Regions from separate parts of the Homo sapiens genome. Here all the other regions are linked to region 1. Evidence: promoter capture Hi-C in human tissues and cell types (Jung and others, 2019). All regions are on one chromosome and are shown on one strand. Each heading gives the region's core, a stretch centred on a gene start or on the middle of the fragment in contact. The rest is flanking DNA. Distances are from core to core; before and after follow the strand shown.

Region 1 (5,028 bases), core at 1,844-4,343:
TAAACTTAAATCATGCCTTATGATGATGTTGACAGACAGAAAAGCCCGAGGGAGGGTGGAGAGGGGGTTGACATGAGCTCTCATTTCTCTCCTGGGTTCTTGGTAGTACTGTGGTTCTTCATGGAAATGGAAGTACAAACTATTGAATAATCGATGTATTTTGCTCTGTAGTTCTAAATTAGAGTAAAAATGTTATCAATCTGTTATATCTCTATTACTGCTATCTGAATTTTGTAGCCAAGTTAATCAATTCAGCAGGACAGAAAAGTAGATAACAGTTTCCTTTTATCTTTGAATTTAGGCCCCTTTTGTCTTTAGCAAACTCAATATTACCATTTTTTTCTGTCTTTTTATTCCAGTGTCTTTTAGGACATGGTTATTTATAAATACTATGGAGTTAACTGTATCATTGTCTGATAAGGAACCTATTTGGAAACCCTGGGCCACTTCCTAGTAGGGAATTAACTGTACAATAATTCTAATGTGAACCTAGTGTTAATTTCCCACTCAGATCCTCATCTTTTGGCTAGAACAATTTCAATAGTAAAGTACCTAATATTTTTGAAATAAGGAAAATATTTTTATGTAAAATAAGTTCCTGGTAAAATTCAAGCCTCAAGGGAAGAGAGGTTTGGTAATACACAAAGCCAAGAAATATGAATGCGTACCTGGGAAGCAGCTCCCACAACGGCTGAGGCACTCAGAGGCAGAGCTTTCTGCTTCTGTCTCATGCGTTCCTGTGTTGATGTGGATAGTCAGCAATATTTAAACAGAGCTCCTAAGAAACATGCCACACGGGAATTCGAAAAGAAATTTCAATGAAGCAATATATGCCTTGACATCCCTTAAAATGTAGCTTCACGTAGTCATTATCTCAACCAGTTATATTATTTCTTTTTCATTTTTCAGTTCTGTCAATCACTCCTTTTTCCCAGTTTGACAATTAAAGATGAAAAATATCTTCTGTTTATATGTCATTTTTCCTTTTGTGGATTGCACAAAAGGAAAATCTTTAAGCTTTACTTCATTTTCTTTTCTTCTTCACATCATAAAAATGATCCTTTCTTTGAAATTTTACTTTCTCTCTGCTTCATCGGGCTACCTTAAATCCAAATATGGGAGAAAATGTTTTCTGCTCACTTCTTAAACTTTGAAAGTTTAAAATCTCAACTTTTAAAATCTTATTTTCCCAAGATTAATCTAAGTCTCCCTCCACCACAAATCTGTAACTGATAGAAACTTGATGAAGAAAATGTCATATATTTTCTTTTCTTTTTTTTTTTTTTTTTTGAGACAGAGTCTTGCTCTGTCACCCAGGCTGGAGTGCAGTGGCGCGATCTCGGCTCACTGCAAGATCTGCCTCCTGGGTTCATGCCATTCTCCTGCCTCAGCCTCCCGAGTAGCTGGGACTGCAGGCGCCCGCCACCATGCCAGGCTAATTTTTTGTATTTTTAGTAGAGACGGGGTTTCACCGTGTTAGCCAGGATGGTCTCGATCTCTTGACCTCTTGATCTGCCCGTCTCGGCCTCCCAAAGTGCTGGGATTACAGGCGTGAGCCACCGCCCCGGCCAAATGCTGCATATTTTCTGCATCAGCCTAAGGGACACCCTGAAGTTTGGCACCTCACAGGTCAACAAATGAGAATATTTCTGTAAATATTAAGTTTTAACTTTTTATAAGGTTTATAACGTCTGTTTAACAAAATTATAACAACTCATACTACTGTGCGTCTGTCCTGCCTCTTTTTTAGAAGACAGTCTACTTGATCCTCCTTTTGCCCTTTCTACCATATAGTTTTTGTTTTAATAATATCCACAAATGACTCAGATTTTTTGAACCATGAAACTCTCAAAGTTTAATCAGTGAGCAGAAACGATTTTCTCCCATATTTGGATTTAAGGTAGTCCAATGAAACAGAGAGAAAGTAAAACTGTAAAGAGAAAATCATTTTTTATGATGTTAAGAAGAAAAGAAAATGAAGTGGCAGCTTAAACTTTGGAAAGATCAGACAGAGAGCTTAAGGTGATCTCCAGAAGAAAATTGCTAGTCGAATTTTCTCAGATAAACATTTATGCTTAGTATAGCACTACTGTTAGAGCATCATTATTTTGAGAAGAAAGTTCAAATTGTCTTGCGTTTAGGGGTTTCTATGTCCTACTGCAGACATAATATTAAAAGGTAGGAAAACATATTTGGTTAATACCTAATATAATACAGTTTGGTAAATATAGTTCCCTTGTCTTGTAAATATCTTATTTTGAAATATCAGCCATTTGTATAGGCCCAAGGGTCTTGTGTCATCTTCAGAATTCTAGTTCCTTCAGCCCAGGAATTCAAAGCAGCAAGAATAACACCACAAAATAAGCTCATAAGCTTATTTTAATGCTATAGTGCTGGATACATAAGATAATCATCTGGTGATTTTTATTTTGGCAAAAAATGTTTTTATAAGTGAAGATTATCAGAAAAGTGTCAATGAGTATTTTTTCTGGCTTAAAGAACTCCAATATGTTTTCAGTGCCAAGGAGAAGGACAGCCTTGTGTATTTAATTACTTTAGCTTATTTTGTCCTCTGGCATGATCTGTTCCCTGATTTCACCACAGTAGAGCTTGCTTTGAAGTTGTAGAAAAATTAAATCAATCACTTGGATCACATGTGTCCCAAAGAATGTGGCTTCCCAGGTAAAAGCAATCTTTCAATCCCCTACTCTCGTTTCACTTTGGCATTTCAACAGCGTTGCAGAATTCTTCGGCAGATAATTTATTTTATCCCTTGGTCCCAGCAGCTCTTATTAAGAGTTTCAGAATTGCCTGTACAAGGTGCACCTTTCACATTACAAGGGATCGGCTCATTTCTTGATGCTTATGCAACCACTTATAACTATGCCTACAGGTAAACATACTGCTGTCTTCTTGGAAGACCGAGAAGTATAAAGAATGTTTATGTGCAGGTCTAGCTGTTCCAAGTACCCAAGTGTTGGTTTAGACACACCTGGATTACCATCCACCTTTTATTGGCTGAGAAAGTTGCCACACCTGATTTGTAAGTTTACCTGTTGCAGCCAATAGCAGGGCCATCTCAGCCAGCCAGCACTGGATACTATCTGGCCAGAAGTAGCAAAGCAGCTCTTATTTGAAAAACCACTGGGTTCCGAGTTCATTACTACAGGAAAAACTGTTCTCTTCTGTGGCACAGAGAACCCTGCTTCAAAGCAGAAGTAGCAGTTCCGGAGTCCAGCTGGCTAAAACTCATCCCAGAGGATAATGGCAACCCATGCCTTAGAAATCGCTGGGCTGTTTCTTGGTGGTGTTGGAATGGTGGGCACAGTGGCTGTCACTGTCATGCCTCAGTGGAGAGTGTCGGCCTTCATTGAAAACAACATCGTGGTTTTTGAAAACTTCTGGGAAGGACTGTGGATGAATTGCGTGAGGCAGGCTAACATCAGGATGCAGTGCAAAATCTATGATTCCCTGCTGGCTCTTTCTCCGGACCTACAGGCAGCCAGAGGACTGATGTGTGCTGCTTCCGTGATGTCCTTCTTGGCTTTCATGATGGCCATCCTTGGCATGAAATGCACCAGGTGCACGGGGGACAATGAGAAGGTGAAGGCTCACATTCTGCTGACGGCTGGAATCATCTTCATCATCACGGGCATGGTGGTGCTCATCCCTGTGAGCTGGGTTGCCAATGCCATCATCAGAGATTTCTATAACTCAATAGTGAATGTTGCCCAAAAACGTGAGCTTGGAGAAGCTCTCTACTTAGGATGGACCACGGCACTGGTGCTGATTGTTGGAGGAGCTCTGTTCTGCTGCGTTTTTTGTTGCAACGAAAAGAGCAGTAGCTACAGATACTCGATACCTTCCCATCGCACAACCCAAAAAAGTTATCACACCGGAAAGAAGTCACCGAGCGTCTACTCCAGAAGTCAGTATGTGTAGTTGTGTATGTTTTTTTAACTTTACTATAAAGCCATGCAAATGACAAAAATCTATATTACTTTCTCAAAATGGACCCCAAAGAAACTTTGATTTACTGTTCTTAACTGCCTAATCTTAATTACAGGAACTGTGCATCAGCTATTTATGATTCTATAAGCTATTTCAGCAGAATGAGATATTAAACCCAATGCTTTGATTGTTCTAGAAAGTATAGTAATTTGTTTTCTAAGGTGGTTCAAGCATCTACTCTTTTTATCATTTACTTCAAAATGACATTGCTAAAGACTGCATTATTTTACTACTGTAATTTCTCCACGACATAGCATTATGTACATAGATGAGTGTAACATTTATATCTCACATAGAGACATGCTTATATGGTTTTATTTAAAATGAAATGCCAGTCCATTACACTGAATAAATAGAACTCAACTATTGCTTTTCAGGGAAATCATGGATAGGGTTGAAGAAGGTTACTATTAATTGTTTAAAAACAGCTTAGGGATTAATGTCCTCCATTTATAATGAAGATTAAAATGAAGGCTTTAATCAGCATTGTAAAGGAAATTGAATGGCTTTCTGATATGCTGTTTTTTAGCCTAGGAGTTAGAAATCCTAACTTCTTTATCCTCTTCTCCCAGAGGCTTTTTTTTTCTTGTGTATTAAATTAACATTTTTAAAAAGCAGATATTTTGTCAAGGGGCTTTGCATTCAAACTGCTTTTCCAGGGCTATACTCAGAAGAAAGATAAAAGTGTGATCTAAGAAAAAGTGATGGTTTTAGGAAAGTGAAAATATTTTTGTTTTTGTATTTGAAGAAGAATGATGCATTTTGACAAGAAATCATATATGTATGGATATATTTTAATAAGTATTTGAGTACAGACTTTGAGGTTTCATCAATATAAATAAAAGAGCAGAAAAATATGTCTTGGTTTTCATTTGCTTACCAAAAAAACAACAACAAAAAAAGTTGTCCTTTGAGAACTTCACCTGCTCCTATGTGGGTACCTGAGTCAAAATTGTCATTTTTGTTCTGTGAAAAATAAATTTCCTTCTTGTACCATTTCTGTTTAGTTTTACTAAA
Region 2 (5,028 bases), core at 1,361-3,860, 55 kb before region 1:
TCAATCAATCCTCCCATATTGGCCCCCTAAAGCACTGGTATTACAGGTGTGAGCCACTGTGCCTGGCCATAGGTAGCATTTCCCTCTGGGAAAGAACATTTTCCTGAAGTACTGAATTACATACATTTTCATTCCACAACACATAGAGCAAGAAGGCACATGAGAATGTCTCACATGGAGGCAATATCTACAAATTAAAATATTTAAGAACTGGTTCCAAACAGAACTAAAATTTGGGGGAAGAACCTTATAAAATTTAGAACTTGTACTCCTGATCTTGCCTGAATTCGAGGGAAATAGTCTAGAATAGGAATAAACAAGTAAATTTTCAAAGAAAAAGGTATAACTTTAGTCAAGAGTGCTCTTAATTTCCGGCTTGGAACACGTAGCATGGGCCACCGCCATCAACAAGAAGAGAGAAGGAAATGGGGTGGAGATAAAGAGGAATGGGAAAAGGAAGGTAAGGGAAAGCATGTAAAAGGAAAGGAAAGGGCAGGGAAGAGGATTGTTTAAACATTTTCCAGCAACTCCCCTTCCTGGCCTCATATGAGAATCATTGACTTGAAAACACATAACCTTGGCATCCCAATAAACTAGAAAGACCCTCAAACTGGAGATGAATTAATCTCATCCTGCCCCAGGCCTCCCCACCACGGTAAGTCACATCTGACTCTCTGAATTCCATCTCTTACAAACTCTTAATGTGGATGATGACTAATGTTTGAATTTCTACTAAAGCTAATGGGTTCTTTGAAGATTATCTTGGAATCAGATAAAGGCAATAACTATGCTAACTTTATGAATAATTGTGAATAGGTATGTGAGCTTATAGATGTGTATGAATACACATATATGTCTTTTCATCATGATTCTTAAACTTGTTATGTATATATCCAGAAGTCATAGTTCTACTATTTTTGAAAATACATATTTACTGCTTTTTTTCTATTTTAATTATTGGTTTAAGACATGGGCATAATTATCATAATAAAGAATGTTATCTCCATAACTTAGAAAACTGTTGATAAAGAAGAGAGAACTTAGCCAGCGTATTTTTTTTTCCTTTTTTTTCCTTGCCTCTCTTGAAAGATAGGTAATAGAGATTTTAAGTGTAACAGTGCAATCCAGCCAGAGGCATAGAACATCTACAGTTCTCTCTGCTTTTAGATAAAAAAAAACCATAGTAGTGTTATAAAATATTAATAGAAACATAATATAAAAGCACAAGTATTCCAGGGACCAGGTATGACAGCTCTATCTGATCAAGATAGTTGTGGTGGTTTTCAAGGAACATTTCTCTACTCATTCCAGAGAATGCATGAACTCATTAGTCTAAAAAGTACCTAACCAACCTGAATGTGAAGGCACAGTGAAGGTTTTCTCAACCACAGCCATACCGTGGCAGAAAAATTATTATACACAATTCCTGGAAGAGCTGGTCATGTTGGCTTGAGCCTGTAATCTCAGCTAATAGGGAGGCTGAGATGGGAGGATGGCTTCAGGCCAGGAGCTGAAGACCAGCCTGGGCAAAGTAGTAAGACTTCACTTCACCTCTAAAAATAAAAAAGAAAAGAATATAAAAATTAGCTGGGCATGATTATGTCTATAGTCCCAGCTGTTTGGAAAGCTGAGATGAGAGGATCACTTGAGCCCAGGAGTTTGAGGCTGCAGTGAGCTATAATTGCACCCCTCTGCACTCCAGCCCGGGCAACAGAACAAGACTGTCTCTAAAAATAAAAATTCAAAAAATATTCTGGGATACATATTTCCAGGAAGCACACACTGAAACAATAATTTTAGGTGATGATGGTTTAACCAGACACAAAACCAGCCCCAAATCCTTCTCTAATCTAAATTTAGGGCACAATTTTATTCTTCTGATTCCAGTGTAGGCTCACATTCTGTGGTAATCAAAAGCATAAGGGGACCTCAACCCCAGAGTCCCAAGCCCAGAAGTTCTGCTGTTTTCAGTGATTGCAAAACATCATTCCATGCCGTCAACATCTGTTTACCAAGTTATGAAACTTTATTCCATACATGAAACTTGGTGCATATTTATCATTATCTCCATGTAAACAGCTTCAGAAATAGCTATGCAACATATTCTAAAATAAACTGTTAAAGGCAGAGGGTTTTCATGATCACTACCAAATAGGGTTGAGGGTATCAGTGAACAAGGCTGTTAGAAACATCGTGTTGATTTTAGAAGTCTGTGTCCAATCGCAGGGATGCCCTATATATTTTGCTATCCTGAGACAGAACATGGGACCGAGAAAGCAATTTCCCGGATCATTTAAGTCTTTAAAATATAAAACCAATGAATTCTTGCAAGTGAACAGTCCTTCAACTTTTCTACATAAAATCTAAAGGCCATTTGGATAGTTGCCTGGTGGCCTGTGGGACCACATACATATTTGTGGGAAGTAGAGATGATGCCTGTCACTGCAGCCAAGTCAGGCAGATGACTGGAGACAAGAGACAGGGCACAGAGTCGTAAAAGGAGACTGGGCTTGGGAATAGGAGGTTATTCTCTAGTGCTGGTATTGTCACATTTTGTCTCTGGGCCTCAGATTCCCTACCAGAAAAAAAGAAGAGGTTGAATTTAATGAACACTTACACCTCTAAAATATGATGATTCTATCATTCTAGATATAAACTGTGCTTTTTTTTTGTTGTTGTTGTTGTTTTTGTTTTGTTTCTAGATAGAGTTTCACTCTTGTTGCCTAGGCTGGAGTGCAACGGTGCGATCTCGGGTCACCGCAACCTCAGCTTCCTGGGTTCAAGCGATTCTCCTGCCTCAGCCTCCCGAGTAGCTGGGATTACAGGCATGCGCCACCATGCCCAGCTAATTTTGTATTTTTAATAGAGATGGGGTTTCTCCATGTTGGTCAGGCTGGTCTCGAACTCCTGACCTCAGGTGATCCACCTGCCTCAGTCTCCCAAAGTGTTGGGATTACAGACATGAGCCAACACTCCTGGCCCCAACCTCTGTTAAAATTTTTTATGGTGTTTAACTATGCCTTCCTTCCGCATGTTCCCTTCCCAAAGTGTTTATCGAATCCATCCAAGCCCAGGCAATGACTTTTAAAGATACAGGCATATTTTTATTACATGTCACAAATAAGCCATTAAATCAGTAGAGATGCATTTAGTTTTGTTACACCTTAATTACTGAATTGCCAAGAGCTACCAATGGAAGCTTTATACCTAACTTACATATTTCCTCAAGACCCTGTGTTTGGGCTAATGCTAATTTATGTTTCAAAAGAAGAAAAACAGAGGAAGTGCCATAGGAGACCAGAATTTCCTCCATGAGTTAATTTTCGGAAGAGAAGCTGCAAACTGCAGTCATTTTAACTGAGAGACTCCACCCTTCTTGTAAAACACATGTACCTAAGTGTACTAGTAAAATCTGCCTGGACCCCGGGCCAGATCATTAAAGCTTTCAGTAGACACCAGGCCCCATGTCTGATGGAACTGATTTCACAACTAAAGACATTAAATATCATAATCAGGTAATAATAAGGTTCACCTTAACCTTGACCATTTAAACTCTACAATTATTAACCTTTTAAAAGAGTAACACAATAAAAAGTCTGACATATTTTTGCAAGCAACATATTAACTCCAGTTTGGTTGGGCTGGAATCTGACTATTTTCAACAGCTGATGAGAAAGCTTATCAAGTCATATATCCCCTCCTGATATGAAGATCCAGAGATAACATGTGTTTATTTCTACAGCCATAAAATAAAAGGAAAATGCAAACAAAGAAAGGAGAGGCACACTGATAGGTGAGATCATCATAATTAGAAACTCAAGGAATGCTGAAGATCAAAAGTTGATTTTAGCCGGGCACCAGAATATAACCTGATCACAGGGAGAGATAGTGGGCAATGGAAGACTCCACAAATGGATTATCATTAAAAACTACAATCTTTTACAGGCTCAGAAAAAGCAATGAGGATAATTTTTATTTAGTTTTTCAAACTGCTGAGTGAGTTTTATTATAGTTGCTAAATCAGTCTGAAGAATGGAATTTCAACATAAGGCAAGAACAAGCAGTTCTGTTTCCTTTGCCCCGTACCCCCAAACATCCTTTTTCTTTGTCTCATTCTCTCTCGTTATTCTTGTCTGGAGGCAACTTTAGTTGTAAAATAATGTAACTTAGAAACAATTTTAAAGAATGCATAAATAATTTAAGCTTATTTCTCAGAAACCAGTTCATATTGCCGGCTTTTGACCCTTGCCCTAATTGCAAAGATACTGTGCAATAAGTATGATGGTCAAGGGTTTTTGTTTGAGAACTTTCTTCTTTAACATTTTACTTCTAGAAGTGCTACTGAGCACCATCTGTTCACATGACTACTGATTTGATGAGTGGATGATGCTGACATGTTCTAGAACTGACTTGGATATTGAATGTTAGCTGTGGATCCAGAGTGGTTGGAGAAAGCCCATTTGGGAGTTTAACTTTTCCTAAATGTATATGGTATGCCTAGCATTGGGCAACTGCTCAGAGTCCACGCAGGAAAACAGAAACCAGGGCAATATAATATAGAGAATTGGTTAGGCATGTATTAGAGGACTGGAAATGCCAAGATGATGGGGATAGTAATTGCAGGAAGCAGCCTCACCCGTGAGATCTGGGACAAAGGGAAGAAGTCAGGGTTGCTAGAATCCAATAAGTGCTAGGGGAGTGAGACTGATCTCTGAAGAGAGGCACAGTTCAGACGGTGGAACAGGGGGACCCTGTGGAATGGTGAGCCAGACCTCTATGGAGGGGGCACTGCTGTTGGGGTGTGCTGGTCTCTGGTGGGAATTCAATGAGACTAGTTCTTCAAATCAGAAGGTGGGAGGGGGGAACTGGAACCAACTGCCATTGCCACAGTGACATTACAGAAACAGAAAGGCAAAGAAGGAACAGTTCCTTTCTCCTCCTGCCTGTTACTCTCTAGTGCCCCCTGTTGACAGAACATAACAAGTAACGTTTAAAACAGACCATACCTTCATAACCATCACAGACCGC
Region 3 (5,028 bases), core at 668-3,167, 33 kb after region 1:
AACGATTTTAATATCAAGTTTTTAGAGGTCTTATTCTGCTGTTTTTTTGCTTGTGTAGTTCACACATATCTTGATATTTCCTTGTATATTTTGGGATTTGTGATTGTGAATCCTGTCTAGTGGTGATCTATCTGTGAGAATTCATTGATTCCCTCAGAGAAATGTTTCGTTTGTTTTTGTTACTTACCTTTGGGCACTATTAACCTAAATTCATTTTAGATTAAAATTCCCAGCCTGCATTTTGTGAACCACGCAAATAGGATTAATCTAGGCCCAAATCTCTATAGGGATAGAATGTCTCAGGCTACCTAATATTAGGCTGAGATAAATTTTCTTTTTTGTCTGACTTAATGGTCAGACAAATTATTCTAGTTTAATATTTCTCCTTAAGATGTTCTTCCTTGAGAATCTTAACTTTATTCTGAGATCTTTAATCTGAATCCAGGCTTACGTCCCAATCCCTGAGCACCAAATACTCTAACTGCAACTGTAGCCCACCAGGGAATGGAAGGTTCTCTGAGGGCATTCATAGATGCTTCTTTGGCTGGTCTCCCCAAAATTATATTTCTTCTTCATTCTTATTCTAGAAAAAGTTACCTTATTTTCTCAAAAACTTCCTAGGCATTAGATAGTATATTTTTTCCTCCAAGAATTTTCAATTTTTTTTTTTTTGAGACAGTTTCACTCTTATCACCCAAGCTGGAGTATAGCCATGTGATCTTGGCTCACTGCAACCTCTGCCTCCCAGGTTCAAGCAATTCTCCTGCCTCAGCCTCCCAAGTAGCTGGAATTACAGGCGCTTGCCACCACACCCAGCTATTTTTTGTAGTTTTTAGTAGAGATGGGGTTTCACCATGTTGGCCAGGCTGGTCCTGAACTCCTGACCTCAGGTGATCCACACACCTCAGCCTCCCAAAATGCCAGGATTACAGGCGTGAGCCACTGCACCCAGCACAAGAATTTTTAATTTTTACATGAAGGAATTTAAAAACTTTTAGGAGGGAATGTTAAATCTTTATATGAGGGAATTTTAGGATATTAGCCTGCCATATCAAGAGAAAGTTGTGAATATCATTTGAAGTGCTGAATTGATATTTTATGCTTAATAGCACAAGAAGATTCTCTAACTAAAATCAAATAGCCATTGACTTAAATTTAACAAAAATATAATAAATATTTCCCAGGTTTTGTGTGTCATCTTAGTATCTTTCTTGTCAAGTAGATAACCGGGTTAAGAAACATAATTGATCTCGATTTTCTATCTTAAAAGCTAATCTCTTTTGCCTAGCTCTTAAGGCTCTCAATGTTTATTCCAACCTCATCCCTTTACTGTGACTCTTACTAGAATGTGTGAAATTAAAATATTCAATAAGTTTCAAATATGACTCTTATGCCAATATATACAATGAACATGTTTTATACATTTTATGTTTAGGAATGCTGATTGCAGAATATTAGAAGAAAGCCATACTGAAATAAGCTTGCTAAATTAAGTCTCTTTAGTGTCCAAAGAACAATAAAACCAGAACTTATCTTTCTACTTTTCACAAAGACAGTAGAAAATCTATAAGTTAGCATGCAACTTTACAACATTTGAGCCCTAACCAATAGTACATACTGAATAAAACAAAGTACAGTCTCCTAAATAATTAAATAATCTTTGGTTGAGTTTATTAGGCAATGTTCCAGTATGACATTGAAAGGATATGTGGGCCTTATTTTGTCTTATTTCTAAGTAGTGCTAGTTTCTTTACTACAAAGTAAAGGCTATGAGAATAAGGAATTTACTCTTATTCACTGTTCTAGGACCACTGCACAGTAGTGTAGGCTGACACATAGTAGGTGCTCAAAAAATATGTTGAAATAATGAAAAAAGAATAAATAAAACAGCTCTATGCCCCATGCCCTTTCTGCATACATTCATCTAAACTAGGGCATCACAGCTCTATCATACCCTTTTATATCAAGTATTGTATAATGTCCTGTTGCTTATTCTGGAATGAAAGTCACAGATGAAACAAAATAATCATTTGGAAATACCAACAGCATGCCCTACTTATAAGGGAAACTTTAAAGGAAAATAATTTATTTAAAAGATATTTTATTATGTGATTGACTAAGAACATCTTCACTGAAAGATATAAAAATTATCAGATGCTTGTTTTTTATGTGAATTCACTCAAAATATGAGAGCTAGAAAGACCGATTGATACAGATATTAGATTTGTGACTCAAATTCCATGGCTACTATTGCCATGGGTGATATGATTTTTTTAAATGTTGAACAACTCTTAGTATAAGTTCAAAACAAATCAAAAGTCAGCCTTCCTGTGATTTACTAGTTTCTGCATTCCTGCAACTTCACTGTGCATTAAAATATTTACTTCGGGTTTTAATCTAAGAGGAGTAGAGTTCTATGTTCATGATCATAAACAAGTTTTTCAGTTATTATCCAAAAGATCATTGGAAAGTTACACAAGTTACACGATAAGGCATCTTTGTGCAGGACTGATGATTTTATGTCTTGTTTATAAAGGAGGACTATTAGGCCTCCATCTATTGAATGCCCAGGAAGTCATCCAATCATTGTGGCAACCAAATTCCACTCTTCTAAACACACACATACACAAACACACACATGCACACACACACACAATTTCAAAATGTTCCTAAGATGGCATATCCCAAGTCCAGGACCAATGATTAAGGCATATACTAATTATTTTTAAATGGCCGGTTTGAACCTTGAACCTTCATTAGTATTTTCCAATGATTTCTGTGGACATTATTCTCTCATTTCTCCACTAATTGACAGATGTTAAGGTCTGTGCATATGGCAAAGCCATTGAAAATATGTACTCTATTGTGTCCTTGTCTGGGTTTCTCTCTCAGACAGCTTCTGTGTTAGTTGGCAGTTCACCTAATCTCTCTCTGTTTCAATTTTCCCATGTACAAAGAGTGAATAAAATTGGTACCTATATCATTGGATTGTTGTAAAGAGAAAATTCATGCCAATTGCAAGGTGGAAAAGGTATCTTAGTATATATTACCTATTTTTCTTATTATCAATTAGTTGATCCCTTAAATACTACGCATCCTGCTTCTTTAGGTAGATGGGCAAACTTCTTCAACACAGGGTATTTGCAGAGAGCTAGATAAACTGTTGATACTTCATAAATATTTATTTGTCAGTTAAGTATATTTAGTTTGAGCCATTGGAAAAGCACAATATTCTTGTAAAAAACACTTGAAAATGTAAGTGCTAGAATTGCCAAGAATACTATCAGTTTGTTCCTGAAGAATTATTATTAATTCAAAGAAGAATGCTCAAAAACAAAAATACAGACATTTTTCTAGTTACTGATTTACAGAATGTTTTTGGCCAAGTCAGTGAGCTACTCTGTATTCTCACTTTTTCCCCACAGCCAAGTGCAGATGTTACACCTGCTCCTTCCCTTTCTCTTGAGAATGATGTAAGGTTAGATAATCTGTATTAAGTCTTTGTTTCTCAGGCCATGGTACAATTATCTGTTCTCTTATTAATATTGTTCTGTCCCATGACATCAGCCATAATAAAGAGTCTTAATAAATCATGCCCTTTTCTGAATTTTCTTTATTAGAGGGAGGTGTGTCTGTCTCTCTTTTTTTTTTTCAACCACTAAACAATACAAAATATTCATTACTTTATTTCATACTTGGGAAGTATTACATAAAGCTTCAAATATCCCCATGATCAGCTTTTATGATTCCCCATAAAAAGTTCAGGAGAAAGTACTGAACTCAGGTGATAGAGAGCTTTGGTTTTATATTCTCATCTTTCACAGTGAAACATTAACTTTCAAATTAACTAGGAAAGAAAGTGACCCAGGAGATGGACAATTTTCTATCCTTATGCAATTAAACTAATAAGTAAATGCCAATTGTTACTGATTTTCAATTTGTTCTTCTAAGATAATTCGTAGATTATTAGGACTGAAGGAGACCCTAACTTGAATGTAACTAAGTGAAAAACACTTCAAGTAGTACATACTATTATAAATGTGGTTCTGAGGCCACACTGCCCAAGGCTGAATCTTGGCTTGACCTATTAACTGGATGACTCTACAATCTAGTTTCCCATGCTCAGCATCTTTTTTGAAAAGATAAGGATGAAGATAATGCTAACCCCAGAAGGTTATTTTGAGACTTGATGACAAGTAATGCAAGGATAACATGAGTAAAATAGTCCGTGTGTGTGTAGCATATCCAAGTGCTTAGTTGAGTGTTAGCCATGATTCTTTGCTCAGGGGCCTATGCTGTGTGATGTACGATGTTCAGCAGCATCTATAGGCTCTGCTCACTCGATACCAGTAGAACCTTCCCAGTGTGACAACCAAAAGTGTCTCCAAATATTTTCAGATTTTCCCTGGGCGGGGTAGGGAACATCCCCCAATTGAGAATCACTGTTTTGTGTTGTAATAGCTGTTTCTATGGGGATGGGGTAGAGAAGCCATGAAATGACACAGCTTCTGAAGATATGAGCTTACAGTCTAATGGGAAAAAGAACCTGGAAAACAGCATTTGAACTGAGATAAATGTGAGCTCGAATTAGCTGTCTCTAGTTGCCTCATTTCATCATCTGTAAAATGTAGACAACCATTAGAACTACATAGATAGTTCAGGAACTTAGCTAGTAGCAAAATGAGAGCATTAAATTAATAATATTCTTATTTTACAGTTTAAAATTACAATAGATAAATAATCTAATTTGTAGTGACAACAAAAATATGACCCCTAGGAATAAAACTAATAACTGCTCCTCCCCACCCCCAAATCCAAACTATCTAAATAATTATGAAAGGATATAAATTAGAAAACTTTACGATATAAATTGTAAAACTTCAGATCATCCCCAACATGATCATATCATTTACATATTTCTAATCAGAATCCTATGTAGCTTTTTTTTTCCTGTTTTAACAGAACAATTTTGAAGTTCAGCTGGAAAAAAGCGCAAAACATTTAAAAAGTAGAATAAGAGAAGATTGT

The links. The method cuts DNA at HindIII sites, captures the fragments that hold promoters and counts their contacts. A contact is called where the count stands out against the background at its distance.
Region 2: a contact is called between a fragment that was not itself captured here and the fragment with the promoter of CLDN8 in region 1, in 2 of the 25 tissues and cell types used here (dorsolateral prefrontal cortex and stomach).
Region 3: a fragment that was not itself captured here is called in contact with the fragment with the promoter of CLDN8 in region 1 in 4 of the 25 tissues and cell types used here (aorta, mesendoderm cells, ovary and 1 more).

What each region holds. Positions count from the first base shown.
Region 1 is chr21:30,214,162-30,219,189 of GRCh38, reverse strand. It overlaps CLDN8 (claudin 8), which reads left to right and starts at 3,093. Exons shown (of 1, transcript NM_199328.3): 1 at 3,093-5,028. The coding sequence starts at 3,265. The coding sequence ends at 3,942. The HindIII fragment of the contact is 13,225 bases long and covers 1,696-5,028 here.
Region 2 is chr21:30,268,710-30,273,737 of GRCh38, reverse strand. No RefSeq gene overlaps it. Among named protein-coding and RNA genes, the nearest start is that of KRTAP24-1, 12 kb to the left of the region's middle. The HindIII fragment of the contact is 6,683 bases long and covers 1-5,028 here.
Region 3 is chr21:30,180,194-30,185,221 of GRCh38, reverse strand. No RefSeq gene overlaps it. Among named protein-coding and RNA genes, the nearest start is that of CLDN17, 16 kb to the right of the region's middle. The HindIII fragment of the contact is 5,375 bases long and covers 1-4,604 here.